3 separate regions of the Homo sapiens genome follow, and all the other regions are linked to region 3. The links are contacts of gene promoters, found by promoter capture Hi-C in human tissues and cell types (Jung and others, 2019). All regions are on one chromosome and are shown on one strand. Each heading gives the region's core, a stretch centred on a gene start or on the middle of the fragment in contact. The rest is flanking DNA. Distances are from core to core; before and after follow the strand shown.

Region 1 (3,018 bases), core at 81-2,580, 500 kb before region 3:
ATTTGAATGCAATGTTATAATAGTATATTAGTGTTACATTAAAATATTATATTGTGTTGAAATGTTTTCTTAGCAAGTTTTCTTAGAATGGCATGTTGAATCTTAAAATCAAAAGGGAGCGCATGAAATTGTGGGGTTCTTTGATGGCATGCAAAACACCACCTGACCTAGGAATGGTGGAGTAGCGGTGGCAGGGCCTGGATTTGGGCTCAGCTCTGACACTGACTCCTTTCCCTGCTCTTCCTCTCTCTGGACCTCAGTTTCCCCATTTTTACATCAGGAGCTGTTGGGCAGTGTTGGCCTCTAGGGCCTCTCTCATGCTGACTGTTTATGGGGCTCTGAATGCTGGACATTCGCGCTACGCCAACTCCCGGGCAGGAAGTGAAAATTCTGCTTAACAATGAGATTGATCTTATCAGGGAATGAATGACTTTCTGGGAGTAAACAGCTTCCTCACTGACAGGAAAAGTAAGAGGATCAAGTGACCAGGGTGAGAGAAACTCCAGACCAAGCAGGCAGGAGTATAGACCTCCAGCCAGCTGCTCACTCTTCCCTAAAGGCACAATGACTCCATCCTGCAAACTGGGGGTGAACCAGAGTCTCCTTCTTCCTTCTAGAAACATTTCCCCATCCATCCCACCCAGTCTTCTCCAGACCCCATGGCTGACCACAGTTTTAGGCTGCTATCCCTGACTGATGGGCCGAATTGCTGAGTTCTGAGCCCCTCATCTTTGCCCCTAGACGTTGGCTGGACTCTCGACCATCTCTGTTTTCCCCCTCCCCTATGTGGATCAGGGCATTTCAGAAGTAGGCCTAGAACAGATGGTTTCAGCAAAAATATCCCGGGCCTTCCCACCTGAACTCTCCCTGCCCCTCACTCTCTAGAAGAAAAAACAAGTGATGGCAAGGCAACCTGGAAAAATCCACACATTTACACAAGCTCTGATCCTTCTGTACATCTTCATGTTTTGCATGCACCACCACCCACAGACCCTGTGGTCCCTGATCCAAGACAAGGAGGGGGTTAAGAGCAAGGCCCAGCAGACCAGCTAATGACCATCAGTGCTCTTGTGCAACCCACTTCCCCTTCTGAAACTGTGTCCTCCATTGCAAAATGAAGTAAGGGTTTTGACCTTATTAAGCATGATGGGCATGAATTTGAGGTAACACCTGCAAACCATTCAGCTCAGCACTTATCAAGTGGCAAATGCACTGAGCTTGTTGAGGTTGAAATTGTCTAGAACTGGGCACACCCTACACCCACCCTAATGCCTTCAGCTTGAGGTCTGGGCCCCAGCCTTCCTGCATGCTACAGCTTGGAGGGTAACATTCATATCTCGCGGTCATCCTGAGATGAAAGGGAAAATCCACAGGAGAAAGACAGCCAGGGGTCTTGGTGATTGGAAGAAGGCTTTCTTAAGAAGCTTGTAGTGAGCATGATGTTTTTTGCTTAAATAAATCTCTTGATACTTTTGAGGGCAGACAAGGCCTTGGAACCTGGAGTAAAGAGGCTGGGCAGAGTTCTAGGCCCACATGGCGTCACTGGCTGACCTCTTTCTATCTCAGGGTTTCAGTTATCTAATCTGGAAAATGGGGCTTTAAAAGGCACTTCTTTCACAGGTCATTGTGGGGGTCAAATGAGATGGTCTAACTCAGAAATCTAGGAAAGGCCGTGAGAGGCCTGGTGTGGTATAGGGATGGAGAACAAAAAATAACACGAAGAAAAGGAGAAATGAAAGGGGAAATGGAGGGGAAGGGATAACTTAGAGAGATTGCATGCTATGGGCAGTCCCTGAGGCAGTCGCCAAGGCAACTTAGAGAAACAGCAGGTGGTAGGCAGTCAGCAGCTCTGCCACTAGCTTGTTGTGTGACTTCCAGCTGGTTCCCTGCCCTCTCTGAGCCTCAGGGTCCTCATGGGTAACACTGGCCATTCAGACTGGACAACTCCAATGGTGAACTCACCCGCCTCCCTTGGTCCCCTGGATTCCCTGATATGCAGCCGTAAGCCCTGAAGTGCTTGGCTGGGGAGACTAGAGTTGATCACAATTCCTAAACACCTTCACTCCTATTTTCATGGTTGGACCATGGATGGCAAGGAAAGGATCTCAGATTTCTGGAGGTGACAGCTGGGACAGCTGAAGATGGTCAGGTTCAAGCTCCTGCCTGAAGCTTGCCAGACGCTATCTGTCCACTTTTGCTGTGGTCACCTAGTGGGGATAGTGGAAATTGAGCAAATGTGTGTTAGTCATAAATGCCTGGTATGAGAACAAAGCAGTAAGCAAGCCAGATCCAGTTCTTGCTCTCATGGAATAACGTCTGGGGAGCAGGGTGAATAATACATTAGAACTCTGCTATTTGGTGCATATATGTATGTAATTGTTATATCTGCTTGATGAATTGACACTTTTATCAGTATATAATGTTTTTTGTCTCTTGTAAACATATTTGACTATTATGTATAGCATTCGTATAGCCATCTCAGATCTCGTTTGGTTACTATTTGTATGAAATATATTTTTTCATGTTTTCACATTCAATCTATTTGTATCTAAAATGAGTCTTTTGTAGACAGCATATAGTTGGATATTTAAAAAAATTCATCCTGTCAATTTATGCCTTTTGATTGGTGAGTTTAATCCATTTACATTTAAACTAATTACTGGTAATTAGGAACTTTTGCAATTTTGTTATTTGTTTTCTCTCAAATGTGCTGTTGAACTCTTCTAGTGAATTTTTCATTTCAGTTATTGTATTTTTCAGTTCCATAATTTATATTTGGTTCCCTTTTATAATTTCTATCTCTTTGTTGATATTATAATTTGGTTCATATATCATTCTTCTGATTTCCTTTAGTTATTTTTCTGTGGTTTTCTTTAGCTCTTTGAGCATTTTTAAGACAGTTGTTTCAAAGTCTTTATCTAGTAAGTCCAATGTCTGGGCTTCCTTAGGGATAGTTCCTGTCAATTTATTTTATTCCTTTGAATGAGCCATGTTTTCTACTTCTTTGTTGTGTTTTTG
Region 2 (2,981 bases), core at 26-2,525, 480 kb before region 3:
ATTTAATGTGGTCATAATGGGAGTGAACTTGTCATGAACCAATTGCAATGGATTTTGGAATCAGACACGTTAGGGCTTGAGGCTCTCAGCTCTGCTAGACAAACTTCTAACTTGACAAATAGGCCAGTCATTAAATCTCTCCAAGCCTTAGTTCCCTCATCAATAAAGCACAGACGATGTGATTTCCCTCCGTTGAGTCTGTGTGAGGATTAAATTAAATGAGATTCATCCATCTATTTGATAAATATTGAATATCTCCTAGGGTCTAGGCCAAACACACTCTTGATATTGGTGGAGGCTGGTGTCCACTCACCCTTAAATCTAAATATTTAAAAATTATAAATCAGACCAATACCTTCTCTTAAATGTTCTATCCTTCTCCTCAGTAAGTATAACTTCTCAGCAGCCTGAAAGGCCAGGATTGATTTGGATTTCTTAGATACTCGCACTGAAATGTGGCGGTGCTGGGGAGAGCCAGCCCCATTCCCTGGTCGCTCATTTCCCAGCCTATAAACTGCCACCTTCCCTTCTCATCCCCAGCTCCATCCTGTACCGTGCACACCTCACCTGCATGTGTGTAGACATCCCAGGCTGCAGGTCCAATCTCCATCCACACCCTATCCTCTGCAGTGCCCCTTGGCTACACCCTGGGCTTAGTGTTCTGCCTCCAGACAATAGACCAGGAAGAGGCCTGGCAGCAGGCTTGGGACTTTTAGGTAGGGAGCTCAGGAATCCTAGGAATCTGTAGTATTCTAGACAAGGAGCAAAGACTTGGATGGGTATATCCCCTTGGCACTGCAGACTCTCTAGCCTGTGGGGATGTACGCAGCTGGAGGCTGGCCAGGGCAGAGCCCCGCTTGCCTGGGTCCAAGGATGGGCTGGTCAGCCTGTGCTAGGTGCTGCAGGTACATGAGTAGATGAAGCAGATACCACCCCTGCTTCTCCTACTCAAAGGTGAAGACACATCCCTGAAGTCAGGGCCTCAGTCTTAGCCCTATCTATAAGATGAGGGCTTACCTGATCTGACATCAGGTAATGTTGGAGACTTGGTGTACGTCCTCAGGAATGTCCTAGAAGCCAGGAGGTCAGATGAGGAGGGGCAAGCTTAAGGCCTAAGCAATCAACTTCCTCCTTGAACCTAAGGCTGGCAAGGCAGGAAGGGCACCCACCCTCTGGTCCAACTCCATCCACGCAACTCCTTCAGTGGCCATAACAACACAACTTCCCATCACACCTAGAATAAAAGTCCAGCTCCTTGCCGAGACCTGCAAAGCCTGCTACCCCCAGCTGCTGACCATCTCCAGTCTCCTTACTACTGCTCACTGAGTTCCATCCTTATGTTCATGAAACCCCACATCTACTCTCCCACCTCAAGGCCTTTGCCCTTGCTGTTTTCTCTGCTGGACACGCCCAGCTCTTTGCATGGCTAGTTCCTCTCACTGTGCAGGCCTCAGCTTACTCTCTTGCACAGAGACGTCCATTGACATCCTTTTAGGAGCAGCTCCTGTCTAGCCCCAGCTCTCTCTTGGGCGTGTCACCACTTTACATCCTTCCTAGTACAGCCAAAACTGGTGTAATGGAGTGTGCAAAAGCTTCCACTTGGGGCTGGACTGGCTGGGTCGAAACCCAGGCTGGGCCCAATATTCTCAAGTGCCGAGCCTACCTACTGCGCACTTGAGGCTATTGTTCAACCTGGTTCCCCACATATCGTGCAACCTGTTGTTTCTCCACCTATCGTGCAACCTGTTTCTCCACATATTGTTCAACTTCCTATTTCCCTTCAATAGATTATTCAACCAGCATTTTCCTATCTGTACAAGGGAGTGAGGATTACATGACCTAATGTGCATATAGCATAGAGCAGAGCCTGGCATAAGCGCTGCATTGGTGTTTGCTACGATATTAACACTTGTTGCTATTTGAAATTATTTTGTCTGTATGTTTCTTGTTTATTTCCCTCTTCTCTCTGACAGGCAAACTCCCCACAACAGCCTCCTCAACGCTGCCTCCCACAGTGCTTGGACAAAATAATTACAGCAAGATGCGGGCACTGAGCTGACTCCTTATGTAGGACATCCCAGTGCAGGTAGAGAAACTGAGGGACAGTTGGAGGTTCCTTGCCCTTGGTGATGCGGTGAGAGGGCCTGCAGGCACCAGCCCGGCCGCCCGCACCGCTTCTCGCGGACCCCAGCGGAGCCGCGCTTCTCGTGCCGCTCCTGAGGGTTTCCGCGGCGCCGGCGTTTTTGTTCCCGGCGCGTTTAAGTCGTTGAGGCCGAATCAAGCGAAGGCGGAAAAGCGGCGCGCAGCCCGCGTCAGCTGCAGTTCCGTCCCCCTGGTTCCCGGTGCGCTAACAAAGGCATTTGCATGAAAACAGGAACCCCGTCTGCAGAAAGGACTCGTTGGCGGGGTGCATCGTGCGCTCCAGTGCCCCTACCGCGGCGCCCCGCTCCCCAGGTGGGGAAGAAGCGGGGTGCGGGGACTGGCCCCAAACACGGCTCGGCCGGCGGGGACCGGCACGCTGCGGCCCGGGCGACCCCCTTCTCCGCCCCTTTCCCAGGCCGGCGGAAACGGCCGTCTCGGGCGTGGGCGCGCTTCTGCGGACTCCTCGGGACCTTTTACCCAGGCGTGCGGCCGGGGCGCCCGGGGCCTCGGGGAGCCGGCGCCAGCGTGCGGAGCGCAGCGGAGCGGAGGGAGCGGCGGGAGCGGCGTCCGTGGCTGGTCCAGGTCTGGGGCGCAGCCTCCAGGCTCGCCCTGCGCCGCTCTGGGCCTCGGCCTCTTCGCCTGTTCGACCGGGGCGCAAGCGTGTCACAGCGCCTGTCTGCAGGGGGAAGCGGGCTTCCCAGAGGGGCGCGTGGCTCGCAGAGGGGCTCCGGGAATATCCGCTCCGTTGGCCCTTTCCAGAGCTTTTCCTTAGCTGCTTCTCCTTTGAAATCCGCCTTTTTCCCAGCAGCCCTTGGAGGCAGGATAAATTAAGTGGTAAA
Region 3 (3,357 bases), core at 117-2,616:
AGATAATGCCTTTAAAGTGCCAGGGGTAGAATCTCTGTGCTCTCTGGGAGTAAGTGCTGAATTAGTGGCAAATGTCTTTCTTGTTATTATTCCTATTGTGTGTTTCCTGTGTGGGACTCTGGGCTGTAAGCTCTTCATTGGCAGGCACAAGATCTGACACCCAAGGCTAGTGCAACTCTGCCAGGTGGGTCATGGGAACTGTGACGTAGGCCTGCCTGGCCCAGGAAGCAGCCCAGATACTGACACACCCTGAGTGTGTACAGCGTCAATCCTCATGGGACTGCCCAGCACACGAGTCCCTCGTCCCTCCCCAGGCACCCAGTGCGACAGGCACCCTCACCCAACCAAACCCACCAGGATCTAAACTAAATTCTTCCTCCTTTTCTGTTCAAATTTATATAATTATTTTTGGAATAAGTAGTACATTTAAACTTTTCAAAATTTAAGACACCAAAAATGTGCCATAAAAAAAAAAATCTCCACCTCAGCACACAGCTCCTTAGGTCTGCTCCCAAGAGACAACCACTCTAAATTCCCATTAAAATAATCAAACTTAATTGCTTCCCCCTTACAAAAGTCATGAGCATTCAGAGCAAAAGCTAACTTAAAAAAAAAAAAACCACCTTGGAACACACAAAAGTACAAACTGAAAACCTCACCCTCAATGCTGCCATTCAGAGATACTCAGCATTTTAGCGTATGTCCTCCTAGACTGCTTTCAACGCACATCCACTTTACAAAAAATGAAAACAAAATGCAAGAAGAGATTCACAATATTGATTTTTCAACATCTCACTAGAATCTCAGAAATGTTTCCTCATACCTTCTTCCTTAAGTGACTTTAATAGCTCTGTGATCTTCCACAGACAATGATTTATTCAAGCAGACCACAGAGATGGGCATTTGGGATTTCTACATTTTCCTTACTAGAAGCAGCAGTGATGGATGGGCCCTGTGACTCCACTGTAACAAATTCCTAGAAGAAATGCTGGGTCACAGGATATGACCACTTTTTAATATCCTGGCCTAGACCCCTAGATACCTATCACAAACCGCCCTCTAGCCAACTGCCTCGATCAGCAGGACTAGGTGTCCAACCCAAATTTAGAGCTATTTAAGAAAAGGCCAAGAAGTCTTGGTTCATAACCGTCTGAACAGCAGCTGTGAGGGCCTTAATCCCACCTCCAAATCCAGACTAAGGCCAAAGGCCTCCTCTGGGCTGGCAACCTGCCTTGTTTACCCAGCCACAGCCCTCACCTGTGCCCATCCCAGTCCAAGGTGAGTCAGCTGAACAGGGGACAGGCACCACCCTTCCCAGATCAGGAAGCCAGCTGAGAGACAGGGCTACGTTTCAGGGAGGGAAACAGATTCAGCAGCGGCAGCAGCTGGAGAAGGTCGTGGAGCAGCACCTTGCCTGCAGGTAAGCGCTGGGGGCCCTGACCCAATCCTGGCTGGGATTGGGATGAGTGAGACCTGCTCTCACCCTGTCCCCTTCCCTCCCTGCCCCTTCCCTTCTGGGACTTCCCAGGCAGCTTCCTTTCGAAGTGCTTCACTCCAAGCAGTCAAGTGTGAAGTGGGGTTTCTTCTTCTGATCCCAGCCCTGGACCAAGTTTGATTAAGGGCTGAGTGATTTTCTTCACCCAGACATCATGAGGGCCCCCGATGCCTTCTGACTGCCCATGACTGTGCTCAAGGAGATGAGATCCACACTTTGCTCCTTGAAAGGCCAATTCCAGCCGAAACCAGAGGCTGCAGGCAGGCAAAAAGCCCATTTCTCCCAAGGAATCCACAGCTCAGGCCGACTTCTCTGGCCTGAGGCTGTTTCTATCAAAAAACCTTCCTGCCACAGCACTGAAACACCTGCTGGGGAACTGCGCCAGGGGCTTCACCTTTCTAAGAACTGGTTTCTTCATCTGGAGACTGAAAATAGCCCACAAAGTCAGGAGAATGGAAGGACATACTGGACACAGGAGCCAGTGCATGCCCTCCTCAGCAGGGTCTCAGAAAATGGGGCAGAAAACGAGCCTGGTATGGGCTGGGCGAGCACTGGACAGGCAGCTTCACGTACAGTGGCCCAAGCTCATGACAATTCCACCACCATCACTTCCCACCTGGGCTCCTGCTCCCACTCCTGCCCTGTAGCCCATCCTCCAAACATCAGCCAGAGGAGGCCTGTCAAAATAACCCTTGGACCTTGGCACTCTGCTGCTACAAATCCCCCAGTGGCTCCCATCTCACTACAGTAAATGCCAAAGTCCTCACCATGACCTCCAGGCCCTCCAGGATCTGGCCCCTCTCACTTCTCCAGCTTCCTCCCCACTACTCCTCCTTACTCCCTCTCTGCACAACTGGCTTCTCACTGGCAGATGTCCTCTAAACACAACACCAACTCCCACCTGAGAGGCTCTGCAATGGCCGTGCCCACCCCATTAGGCCTTTCCTCAAATGTCACCCCACCCAGCCAGCAAGGCTTCTGAACCTCCTGACATGACCCTCCGTCCTGCTCTTTCTCTCCAGTGCCTCCCACCATCTAACACAGCACACAGAGTCACAAAGCCTATTTATCCAGCTCTTCCCCCAAAGAAAGTACATTTGGGGACCAAGTCTTCTTTCCTTCACTGCTGATACCTAGAACAGTACTCAGACTTAGCAGGTGCTGAGTAAGTAAGCGCTGAAACAATGAATAAACAGCTAACTTTTACTGAATGCCTATTATGTGCTAGGTGCTGTGCTAAATGCTTTCCATATACACCTTAACTCTTTTTAAAAATCTTTCAGTCTCCAGACAACTGTGATGCAACTATTGTTATCCAGATTACAAAGGAAGAAATGACATTCAAAGGGGATTTGCCTATGCTGTGCTCTCACAAGTCAGAAGCAGTCAGTCTGAACCCTGCCCTGCCTGGGCCTGGGTTCAGGCGTGTCTGCTTGAGGAAGTCACAGCTTTTCCCCAGCAGGCAGTGCAGCACTGAGAGGAGGAGTGGGGGTACATGCTGGTGGCCTAGCAACAGCTTCTTCTATTCCGACTCACCACATCCCTGGGCTAATTTGGCCTTCCAGGAGCTATTCCTCTGACACTCTAACCCACGCTTCCCTCCCGCGCACTGTCTTGTAAAGGACGGATGAGCTGTCCACAGGAACGAGTGGGAGTTCCATCACTTCAGCTCTTTGGAACAAAGTGTTCCAAAGAGTGTTCTCACTCTAAGTTCAAAGATGGGGGCTGAAGTCCCCTTGTCAGCCCTGCTGATCTCCGAAGCCCAGCTATTGGTTTGTTGTGGGTGTTGTTATTGCTTATATCAAAAAGTACAGAAGCTCAGGGATGGAAATCTGGAAAGGGCTGTGGGAGAGGAAAATTCC

Evidence for each region. The method cuts DNA at HindIII sites, captures the fragments that hold promoters and counts their contacts. A contact is called where the count stands out against the background at its distance.
Region 1: a contact is called between a fragment that was not itself captured here and the fragment with the promoter of SDCBP2 in region 3, in 2 of the 25 tissues and cell types used here (dorsolateral prefrontal cortex and hippocampus).
Region 2: a fragment that was not itself captured here is called in contact with the fragment with the promoter of SDCBP2 in region 3 in 1 of the 25 tissues and cell types used here (lymphoblastoid cells).

Annotation. Positions count from the first base shown.
Region 1 is chr20:1,822,458-1,825,475 of GRCh38, reverse strand. No RefSeq gene overlaps it. Among named protein-coding and RNA genes, the nearest start is that of SIRPA, 71 kb to the left of the region's middle. The HindIII fragment of the contact is 6,431 bases long and covers 1-3,018 here.
Region 2 is chr20:1,803,085-1,806,065 of GRCh38, reverse strand. No RefSeq gene overlaps it. Among named protein-coding and RNA genes, the nearest start is that of SIRPA, 91 kb to the left of the region's middle. RefSeq lists a silencer at 2,445-2,694. The HindIII fragment of the contact is 3,353 bases long and covers 1-2,951 here.
Region 3 is chr20:1,327,148-1,330,504 of GRCh38, reverse strand. SDCBP2 (syndecan binding protein 2) reads left to right here and starts at 1,366. Exons shown (of 9, transcript NM_080489.5): 1 at 1,366-1,420. All of the region lies in intron 2 of FKBP1A-SDCBP2 (FKBP1A-SDCBP2 readthrough (NMD candidate)), which reads left to right. All of the region lies in intron 1 of SDCBP2-AS1 (SDCBP2 antisense RNA 1), which reads right to left. The HindIII fragment of the contact is 26,056 bases long and covers 1-3,357 here.